3 separate regions of the Homo sapiens genome follow, and all the other regions are linked to region 2. Evidence: promoter capture Hi-C in human tissues and cell types (Jung and others, 2019). All regions are on one chromosome and are shown on one strand. Each heading gives the region's core, a stretch centred on a gene start or on the middle of the fragment in contact. The rest is flanking DNA. Distances are from core to core; before and after follow the strand shown.

Region 1 (3,984 bases), core at 840-3,339, 120 kb before region 2:
CTGAAAAGTAGAGACGTCATATGCTTTTAGGTGTACATTATTTTGCTCACTGAAATAAATATGCTTATTTTCTTGATTTATCTCTTTTCTTGTGGGCCTAGCCTCTCTCCCTAAATGGATTTCTCCATTCCCATGGCTTTGGTCACCATCTCGGTGACCTGACCCCTAAATTTTTTTTTTGGTTTTTTTTTTGAGATGGAGTTTCACTCTTTCACCCAGGCTGGACTGAAGTGGCACGATCTTGGCTCACTGAAACCTCCACCTCCCCAGTTCAAGCAATTATCCTGCCTCAGCCCCCCGAGTAGCTGGGACTACAGGCACCCACCAACACACCTGGCTAATTTTTATATTTTTAGTAGAGACGGGGTTTTGCCATGTTGGCCAGTCTGGTCTCAAACTCCTGACCTCAGGTGATCCACCCACCTTGGCCTCCCAAAGTGCTGGGATTACAGGTGTGAGCCACCACGCCTGGCCAACCTGACTCCTACATTTCTATTTCTAAAGCAGATCTCTTTTCTGCACTGTAAGTCCTACACATCCAACTGCCTTCTCTGATCTTCTCCTCTTTGTCTCCCAGGTCCCTCAATCTTAACATGTCCAATCTTGGTCTCTTTTTGAGGCTTTGACTCCTGCAGTATTCCCTAGCTCCAGGAATGCACCCCCATTTCCCCCGTCTTATGCCAACACTGATGGTTACTCTTGGTCCCTCCTCTCTTGCTCATTTCTCACATTCACTGAGTACCAAGTTCCTTCTAAATGCTTGTGGATGTCTTCATTTCTCCCCATCTCCACTAGCCCTGCTCTGGTCCAAGCCACCATCCTCTCTTACCTGAGATGTTGGAGGAGCCCCCTAAGTCACTGCCTGCATTCACTTTTGCTCCCACTAGTGAAATCTTCTCAGTGATCTTTTTAAAATCTGGTCAGCCAGGTGCGGTGGCTCATGCCTGTAATCCTAGTGCTTTGGGAGGCCGAGGCAGGTGGATCACCTGAGGTCAGGAGTTCAAGACCAGCCTGGTCAACATGGCGAAATCCCATCCCTATTAAAAATACGAAATTAGCCAGGTGTGATGCCATATAGATGTAATCCCAGCTACTTGGGAGGCTGAGGCAGGAGAATTGCTTGTACCTGGGAGGAGGAGTTTGCAGTAAGCTGAAATCGCGCCATTGCACTGCAGCCTGGGCAACAAGAGCAAAACTCAATCTCAAAAAAAAAAAAGAAAAAGAAAAATCTGGTCATAACACTTCCATATTTAAAAACCCTCCAGTGGTTTCCCTCCACTCTCAGGATAAAGTCCAGAATCCTGACCACAGCTTGCCAGGCTCTGAATGGTCTGACTCTGCTTCCCAACCCATTGTATCCCCCAGACCATTTATACACTAGGCCACAGGTTTATTTTCAGTTATTTGAAAGCTTTATCTCTTTCCTGCCTTTGTATTAGGCTGGTGCAAAAGTAATGACAGTTTTTGCCATAATACATCTCCTTCCCTCTACCTCAATTTCACTTCCCATCTCCCAGACCCTTCACCTCACTATCTTCTACTCATCCTTCAAGTCTCAGCTTAAATGTCATTTCCTCAGAGAAGCCTTCCTGGATCTCACCACCATCATTGCCACTTGGGCTAGGTAAGGCATGTTTTTATAAGCTCTAATAGTGCCGTCTAATTCTTCTTGGCATTCATCATCTTTGTAATTGTTTATTTGCATAATTTGTTTAATGTGTCTTCTCATTACATTTAAGCCCCGTGAGGACAATGTTGGTCTTGTTCACTTCTACTATCTAGCTAGCATACCTCACAGTGCCAGGCACGTAACAGTGCCCAACAAATATTTGGTGAATGAACGAATGAGTGAGAAAAGATAATTACTTTGAGAGGCAGCATAGCATGGTAGAAGTCACATTGGAGTAGCAGCCACAGACCTGGGTTCTAACCCTGGTTTCATTTCCTGGGTAATCTTCAGCCGTAATACATTTCATTACGCTTCAGGGTCCTAGTCTTTAAAACAAAGGAATAATGGTCTCTGAGATTTCTTCAGTTTCCAAAATGCAATGAGTGTTACTTTTAGTGATGACCCAGTGACCGCATGAAAAGGTGTTTGTATGTTGACTCCAGTTCTGGAAGGGAGAGCAATACCTTTCCCCAGGCTCTCTGATTCGCCTTTCCCACATCCTCCCCATCTCACCACTTTTGGTTTGATTACGAAGTAGATATCCCTGTCATTACTATCAAACTTACAGTTGACCGATGTGTTTGGGAGATTAAGAAATGAAAGAAGTTGGCCAGGCGCGGTGGTTCACGCCTATAATCCCAGCACTTTGGGAGGCTGAGGTAGGTGGATCACTTGAGGTCAGGAGTTTAAGACCAGCCTGACCAACATGGTGAAACCCCATCTCTACTAAAAATACAAAATTAGCTGGGCATGGTGGCGTATGCCTGTAATCCCAGTTACCTGGGAGGCTGAAGCAGGGGAATTGCTTGAACCAGGGAGACGGAGGTTGCAGTGAACCAAGATTGCACCATTGCACACCAACCTAGGTGACAAGAGTGAAACTCCGTCTAAAATATAAATAAACAAATAAATAAAAACAAGAAATGAGAGAAGTTAAGGTGTGTCAAGCTTCCAGAAAAGACAGATAGCTTCCCCTCTCAGGCTTGAGAATTATAGGGTCAATTTAATGCAAGTCTCTGGAATGTTTCCCATCCTCATATGCTCTTGTGATGCTTCTATTGGGGAAAAGCCTGTTCAGATAGGAGCAGGGAATGGTGCTGAGGGCAGAAGCTGTCATGAATCCTCAGTTCACTCACTCACCATGGGCCCTGGGATGGGTTGGGGCTCGCTTGCATGTGGGTGTGTCAGGCATTCTGGGAATCCATGTCAAACAAAATCACTTCTCTACAACAGGAAGGTCTGAATCACAAGGCACTGACAAGTCGTTTAGTTTCCTCACCCTGCTCCCTTGAACTCTCCCATCCCCACTCCCCAACTCACCCCAGGGATCAGTGTACCTCCTATGCAAGTGGTGCCAGCTCCAGCCAGAAAGAGCTAGGTCCTAATACCTGCCACCCCCAGCACGCTCCCCTGGGCTACTCTTAGTCACAGACCATGCAGTTCGGGGTCTTAAAGGTCTTCTTCAAGACAGCACAATTATATTTAGAAGAACTGCAAAAAGCATTTGCCCCCAGAAATCCTGTGGCCCCATTGGATAACAATACTACCTATTCGAATGATGCCAGCAAGGACTCTCTTCTCACATTCAGGAAGGTAAGGAGGAAAAGTGTCAAAAAGATCACCCTGCAGACAAAAATATCACATTCCCACAAAATCTGAGCTGTAATGAGCTTCTTCAGAGAATTATACTTAATTGGTCACTTTTCTAAGGTGGAATGACTTGCCAGTTTGCTCAGCCTAGGGCAGACTAGCTGCGTAAGATTGTGTGCATTATTCAAGCAGAGAGTACCTGGTCTGGGGAGCTGAGAGCCAGCCCACACTGTATTTTTTCAAGCCATGTGTTTTGGGGACTGTGTCCTTCCACAGGCCAGGCCTTTTTCTAATTTGCACAAAGGTGTTATGTGAGCTATTGGTTGCTCTGGCCTAGGCCTCCAAATCTGGAAGGGATAATGACCATGTAAGGAAGAAGCACGGGTTCATATCATGCCTTGGGTCCTCTCCTTATTTTCACCTCCTGAAAAATGTTATCTTATTTCTCCAAAATAATGTCAGGTCATTTATTCAGTAAACACGGATTGTTCGTCTTGTCTGTGCCGGACAGGGTACTATGTTAGGAGGCTATATCAGAAAACATTTCCCAAGAGAAATTCAGAAGGCAGATTAGGATAATTCAAGGAGGAGATTTATGAACAAAATAACAATTTATAAAGGCGAAGCTGTTGGGGGAATAGTGTAGTGAGAGCTGGTAGCAACCAAGCTCTTATCATCCCTAGGCTTGAAGACTCGAGGGGAGGGAGTGATTACTGAAATCAGTT
Region 2 (3,655 bases), core at 522-3,021:
GGGACAAATTGTGGAATCAATGCCTTTACCGCCACTGAGGCCAGCCTAGCACAGCCTCCATCCCAGGCCTCCTAGGGCACCTGGATGGAAGCTCTTAGGTTTGCCAAAATCCCTACAGAACAGCAGCAATTGGTTTCTTAGTCAACTACAGCAGGCATTTATTGTACACCTACTGTATGCAGCAGCCTCTGGAGGAGAAAGTTCAAGCTTTACAACAAGGGAGGTGATATGTGTAAAGCTGTATGTAAACCATGAATCACAGGGAATGTGCAGGATGACAGAGACGGAGGAGAAAGGATAAGCATTTATTGAGCACCTACCGTATGCCAGGCCCTGGGCTAGGGACTTGAGGTACATTAAAGCATTTAATCCTCATTAACCCAATTTTACAAATGAGGAAACTGCCACAGAGAGGTGAGGGGACTTGTTCAAGGTTTGACAACCAAGTAAGGGAGCTGGGATTTGAACCCAGGTCTCTCTGGTTTCAAGACCAATACTCATAACCCCCACATGGACCAGGCACCATCACACCTGAGCACTGCACTTAGGGTCAAAGACCTGGCCCCACATCTCAGCAGCTATGTAGACTAGCTCCAGTCCCTTAATCTCTCTCAGCCTCAGTTTCTTCATCTGCAAAACAGGTCTCAGTTTCGTTGCAAAGTATGAAGTGCTGGGCTGTTACTGGTCAAAGGGAAGAGCTGGGAAGAGGGTGCAAGGTGGGGTTGGGCTGGAGATGGGCTGGAGCAGATAGATGGAGGGACCTGAATGGAGGAAGTAAACCAAGGCCCGGTAACATTGGGACTGGACAGAGAACACGCAGATCCTCTAGGCACCGGAAGCTAAGTAACATTGCCCTTTCTCCTCCTGTTTGGGACTAGGCTGATGTTGCTGCCTGGAAGGGAGCCAGCAGAAGGGCCCCAGCCTGAAGCTGTTAGGTAGAAGCCAAATCCAGGGCCAGATTTCCAGGAGGCAGCCTCGGGAAGTTGAAACACCCGGATTCAGGGGTCAGGAGGCCTGGGCTTCTGGCACCAAACGGCCAGGGACCTACTTTCCACCTGGAGTCTTGTAAGAGCCACTTTCAGCTTGAGCTGCACTTTCGTCCTCCATGAAATGGGGGAGGGGATGCTCCTCACCCACCTTGCAAGGTTATTTTGAGGCAAATGTCATGGCGGGACTGAGAATTCTTCTGCCCTGCGAGGAAATCCAGACATCTCTCCCTTACAGACAGGGAGACTGAGGTGAGGCCCTTCCAGGCAGAGAAGGTCACTGTTGCAGCCATGGGCAGTGCCCCACAGGACCTCGGGTGGTGCCTCTGGAGTCTGGAGAAGTTCCTAGGGGACCTCCGAGGCAAAGCAGCCCAAAAGCCGCCTGTGAGGGTGGCTGGTGTCTGTCCTTCCTCCTAAGGCTGGAGTGTGCCTGTGGAGGGGTCTCCTGAACTCCCGCAAAGGCAGAAAGGAGGGAAGTAGGGGCTGGGACAGTTCATGCCTCCTCCCTGAGGGGGTCTCCCGGGCTCGGCTCTTGGGGCCAGAGTTCAGGGTGTCTGGGCCTCTCTATGACTTTGTTCTAAGTCTTTAGGGTGGGGCTGGGGTCTGGCCCAGCTGCAAGGGCCCCCTCACCCCTGCCCCAGAGAGGAACAGCCCCGCACGGGCCCTTTAAGAAGGTTGAGGGTGGGGGCAGGTGGGGGAGTCCAAGCCTGAAACCCGAGCGGGCGCGCGGGTCTGCGCCTGCCCCGCCCCCGGAGTTAAGTGCGCGGACACCCGGAGCCGGCCCGCGCCCAGGAGCAGAGCCGCGCTCGCTCCACTCAGCTCCCAGCTCCCAGGACTCCGCTGGCTCCTCGCAAGTCCTGCCGCCCAGCCCGCCGGGATGCAGTCCGGGCCGCGGCCCCCACTTCCAGCCCCCGGCCTGGCCTTGGCTTTGACCCTGACTATGTTGGCCAGACTTGCATCCGCGGGTGAGTGAGGGGCCTGAGACCCCGACCCAGCCTGGCGGAACTAGAGGGGTTCCTCCGGGAGGGAAAAGGGACAGGAGGAGCCAGAAGTGGCCCCCAGATCGGGAGTCAAGCAGGCTGCGCTTCTCCCACCACTAGCTGGGGTCGCCAGGGGTTCAATCCTGGGGCGGACACGGGACCCCGCTATCTCAGGTTATGGGGTTTCTAGCTAGCCAAGGCTGTCCAGTTAGGGGCGGGAGCAGGCGCCCCAGGCATGGATTGCCTAGGGCGTGGCTTTGCCCGTTTGGATTGTCTGAGACACCAGTGGGGCCACCCCAATGCTGGCCGAGCTTTGTTTGCCAGGCAAGTTTGGGGTGAGTATGTTGGGGTCCAAAGGGACCCGGCGACAGTGAGAAGTGGGTCCTCCAGCTTCAGATGCCCTGGGCCAGGAATGGGGAGTGCTACAAGGTGGGAAACGAGGAATGAGCCACCCTGCCCTCCCCTGTGAGGAGCACCCCCACACCCCTCCAGCTGCCCCCCAGCTCTGCCCCTTCTTTCCTCCCCTTGCTTCCTTGCAGATCCGTCTATCTGCCACCTCCCCTCTTCATTCTCTCCTCTCCCTCCTCCTGTTGGTGACAGGCAGGACCCCCCACCCACTACCCACTCTCAGCCTCCTAGAGGGAGAGCTGGTGCCCCTCAGCGGGGCTTGTCCTACAGATAGCTCTGGACCACCCCCTGCCACACCTCCTCATCCCAGCACTGATGCCTGACCCAGCAGAGGCTGAATGGAAGTTCGCTTTCCGAGAAGTGCTGGGATATATCCCCTCTCTGTCCCGATGCCAGAAACCCCAACATGACAGCATTCTTCCTTCAGCGAAGGCAGCTCTAGTTATGCCATAAGAACTGTGGCCTTAGGGCCCATCCATCATCACTACCCACGTGTGATTCAGTGCTTCAGCTACACCTTCGAGATCATTCCCAAGAGCAACATGGAGCAAAGGCAGGGCCTGAGCCTCCTTCACAAGGGCCCAGGCCACACCCTTCTCTCCTTCAGATGGAGAAGCCAGCTCTAAAAGAGGGCATCACATGGTTCCCAGAAGGGAAGTGAGTCAAGGGAGGACCCCCGCGGGGTGAATCAGGGCTGGATCTCCAGGCTCCCTGTTCCTGCAGGGACCAGATCCCCTAAGATCTCAGGGCCTGAGGGATGGGCTGGGCCGCCAGGGAGATGGGAAGGGAGCATCCAAGGTGACCAGGGTGGTCAGCTCATTCAGGCCCCAGCCTCCAGCCAAGGAGGGATTCCAGTACCCCCACCTCCTTGGGCTTCAACTGAGAGCCATTCTCAAATACCTTCTTAGCCCTGACAGCATGCAGGCATGGTGCTAGGCTCGCAGGGGCACGGGAAATTGAGAGGCTGAACTGAGACTCATTCAGGAGGCAGAAAGGCAAATTAAATCTCAAACAGCAAAAATCTGGATGAAAAGTACAGAGGGGAGAAAAGCAGGGGCAAGCTGGGGCAGGACACAGGGTGGGCCTCAAACCAAGCCTTGGTGGATGGGAAGGGAGTCAGTCCTCCAGGCAGGGGCGCTGACTCAGAGGCACCAAGGTGGGCGTAAGCAGAGGGGTGTTGAGACAGGAAGGCCAGCAGCCTGGCTGGGAGGCGTATTTCGAGCACAGGCCAGGGAGAACCACTGGGCTGGGGCACAGAAGCCTTAAATGGCAAAATGAAGC
Region 3 (3,768 bases), core at 71-2,570, 88 kb before region 2:
CTGTTCTCTGGTTTACCATCCCCATGACTCAAGAATTAAAGATGTCAGACCTGGAACAGTGGCCCTTATCTCAACTTTGGTTCCTCTTTGCTAAATCTATTCCTGTAATTTTGTGCTGAGTGCTCATGTCCTTTATCTCCTTGAATTTACGTATATTAGTTTATCGAATTGCAAGTAGACAAGCCCCATTAAGCAGGATTCTTATATTTCCAAGGTCATCTCATTACTCCATTCAACCTCAAATTAGTATGCCATTTATCCCCTTATTTCCGAACCCCCTTCACTTAATAGTCTCATAAGCATCCATCCATCGCAAAAAGGACTCGAACTTTTCTCACTTCCATTTTTAGTTGATTCATTGCTATCCAAGTAATGATTTGTCTGGGGGAGTGATTAGTAGAGAATTGTGCCCTTAAATTTAGTTTTATAGTTGGATTCTGCTAGTTACTATCTCTCTGTCATTCTCACATTGCAACAAATGACTGGGTTTCTGTCTCAACCTAAAATGTAGGTTAGAAATTTGATCTTATCTGAATAAGATATTAATAGATAATGTGAGACTTTTTAAAATTTACTGAAATGTTTCTCAGCCAAGAATGACACTCATGGTCACAAATATGTATGTAAGCAAGCAGAAAATTGAGCTTTAAATATATAAACTCTTAAAATATCATATTTAGAGACTATGTTTTTTTCTTTCTTAGTAAAGTATATTTGCTATGGTTGGAATGATTGTGTCTCCTCCAAAATTCATGTTGGAACTTAAACCCCAATGTGATAGTATTAAGAGGTGGAGTCTTTAGGAGATGACTAAGCTGTAAGGAGGAGCCCCCTCGTGAATGGGATTAGTGACCTTATGAAAGGGCTTGAGGGAGCTACCCAGCTCGGTTTTCTTCTTTTGCTTTTCTGTTCTTTCCACCATGCTGGGACACAGCATTCCTCACCTCTGGAGGTCTCAGCATTTAAGGTGCCATCTTGGAAGCAGAGAGCAGCCCTCACTAGACTACAAACCTGCTGGCGCTTTGATCTTGGACTTCCCACCCACCAGAACTGTGAGAAATACATTTTTGTTCTTTACACATTACCCAGTCTCAAATATTTTGTTACAGCAGCACACATGGACTAAGACAGTATCTTACATTCAGCGAGGTGCCTATACCTTAAGCTACAACTCCTTACTATTTACATATGTGCACACTTATGTGACCGCCACTCAGTTCAAGATACAGAATGTTCCCATCAGCACAGAGGGCTCCCTCTTGCCCCTTCTCAGTTGCTGTCCCCTCAAAGTTAACCAGGATCCTGACCTCTGCAACCATGGATTAGTTTCGCCTGTTCTTTAGCTTCATATAAATGGGACCATTCAGTATGTGCACGTTTGTGGCTGGCTTCTTTCATTCAATATAATCCTGTGAGATTTAACCACGTTTTGGGTACTGGTAGCTGTTTATTTTTCTGGTTGTGTAGTTTTCCATATTTCATTTATTACCCTGCTATTTTTGTCTCTAACTCAGTGTCTTGTGGGGTCTATTGTTCCTTTTTAGCTGGATTGATACTAAGTGTCTTCTTATCAATGGAGCTTAGGACATTTTAGAAGATGAAAGCCTAATAACCCCAAGCCCCCCAATCTTAAGCCAAGTTTCCTCCTCACGCCTGCTTCAGTTGCTCTTCTTCATGTGGTATTTTTTCCCTCACAAAACTGATGGAAATTAAGAAACCCAAAAGCTCTTCATCATGTTATCAGCTTAGGGACGCTTGTCATCTGAATAACAGGGTAGATATTTATCATCTGAAATGTTAAAATAACTAGAGCAAACACTTACATAGCACTAACTGCTGTTCACAGTGCTTTACATATATTATTTTCCTCAAAACTGCTCTGTGAAATAGACACTATTATTGTCATCCCCACATTTTAGATGGGGAAATGGAGGCACAGAGAGACCATGTAACTTTCCCAAGGTGGTAAGGCCAGGACTTGAACCTGTGTTTTCTGGTTTTAGAGCCTGCACCCTTCACCACCACACCATATTGTGTAGCATGATACTTCCTCTGGTTAAAGTGTTTTCTTCTATTTACGTGGGAGCATTTTCTGAATAATTTGAATCTTATAAATTAGCTTCAAATAATACAAGTAAATTGAAATGGAAGATCTAATATAGAATGTGTGGCATTCATGAATAAATTATAGGACTCCCTGGTTTTAAGTAATAATTATTTGCTTATCTTGTGACTTTTGTCAGCAGGGCTGTAATGTGCTCACCTCATTTTCCTTCTCTTCAATAGAAGGAGATGGACTCAGAGACAGGCACAATTTATCATAAAATCTCATCACACTTTCCCTCACCATCTGGAAGCTGGAGATAGGTTAGTGAAATCTTGGTTGAGAAAGAGTTGAATGCTGCTTGTAGCATAGTGAGTTTCAGAAAGATGGTTTTATTTGCTAGTTCTATTGCATAGGGTCCTGCAAGTTTTGGCAATTAACATATATGACCAACAGTTTTCTCACAAAGATTATCAGGATTCTAGAAGAAATTATATTCCAGTTTTATCCTGCTGCTAAAGTCCTATATTTCTTTATATAAGAACTAATTAATTCTTTGTCACTTTTCATTAGACATTTCTCTGCCTCTTTATGCTGTGCTTTATGTCTCTTTGTGCTCAGCCCCAGGTTTTTCCTTCTAACTGCAAGATTATTGAAATTTTCTCTCTCTCTCTCAAACTCCCGGGCTCAAGTGATCCTCCTCCGTCCACCTCCTGTGTAGCTGGCATTACAGATGTGCATCACTGCACACTGCTGACTCTCTCTCTCTCCTTTTTGAGATGGAATCTCACTCTGTTGCCCAGGCTGGAGTACAGTGGTGCGATCTCGTCTCACTGCAACCTTCACCTCCCTGGTTCAAGCAATCCTGAGTAGCTGGGTTTACAGGTGCATGCCACCACGTCCAGATAATTTTTTTGCATTTTTAGTAGAGATGGAGTTTCACCATGTTGGCCAGAATGGTCTCGAACTCCTGACTTCAGGCAATCTGCTCGCCTTAGCCTTCCAAAGTGCTGGGATTACAGGCATGAGCCACCGCACCGGGCCAATTTTCTCTTTAACCTTCCCCATGAGCATGTGTACACACACACAAACATGCATATAGACACCCAGACATCCACATGTATACACAAACACAAATACAGAGACATACACATATCTATACACACTTATTAGATATACATTTACACACACCAACACAGACGTGCACACACACGCACACACCTTCCTTTCACCTTCTTCACAGGACTCAGTGTTCTCAGAGAGTGGAAAGAGTATTGCACCATGAGTCAAAGATAGACTGTGCAACTTTGCCCAAGTGTCTTTTCTTTCGAGATCTCGTTTATAATAATAAACATCCTTACCCACCAATTAGGGTTATTTTGAAGATAAAATAGAAAGATTGAATAATAGAATGATGGCATGTCGTATAGTTTTAAAAAATAAGGAAAAAAAATTAACCTTGACCAAAAAGAGATCTGGCCTTTGTCCTAGACTCCTGGGAGGTAACTGTCAACATGTAATACCTGATAGGAATATCTTTGCCTGGGGATCTTGGCTCATGATGGACAGCCTAATAATAAGATTTAGGGTAGGGACTAGCCAGGGCAAAAAAGCAACTATGTGATTTAGAGTCTGGGCTTTAGGTCACTCCTGGAAGTACTGGAGACTGGAAACTGAGCGCAGCCACATGGACAATCAAGCATGCCTCTGTGATGAAGTTCCAG

The links. Contacts are between HindIII fragments. The study calls those that stand out against the background at their distance.
Region 1: a fragment that was not itself captured here is called in contact with the fragment with the promoter of CSPG4 in region 2 in 4 of the 25 tissues and cell types used here (IMR-90 fibroblasts, lymphoblastoid cells, mesenchymal stem cells and 1 more).
Region 3: a contact is called between a fragment that was not itself captured here and the fragment with the promoter of CSPG4 in region 2, in 5 of the 25 tissues and cell types used here (aorta, psoas muscle, small bowel and 2 more).

Annotation. Positions count from the first base shown.
Region 1 is chr15:75,826,790-75,830,773 of GRCh38, reverse strand. No RefSeq gene overlaps it. Among named protein-coding and RNA genes, the nearest start is that of UBE2Q2, 15 kb to the left of the region's middle. The HindIII fragment of the contact is 5,487 bases long and covers 1-3,984 here.
Region 2 is chr15:75,710,964-75,714,618 of GRCh38, reverse strand. It overlaps CSPG4 (chondroitin sulfate proteoglycan 4), which reads left to right and starts at 1,771. Exons shown (of 10, transcript NM_001897.5): 1 at 1,771-1,951. The coding sequence starts at 1,864. The HindIII fragment of the contact is 20,321 bases long and covers 1-3,655 here.
Region 3 is chr15:75,797,972-75,801,739 of GRCh38, reverse strand. No RefSeq gene overlaps it. Among named protein-coding and RNA genes, the nearest start is that of MIR4313, 38 kb to the right of the region's middle. The HindIII fragment of the contact is 8,210 bases long and covers 1-3,768 here.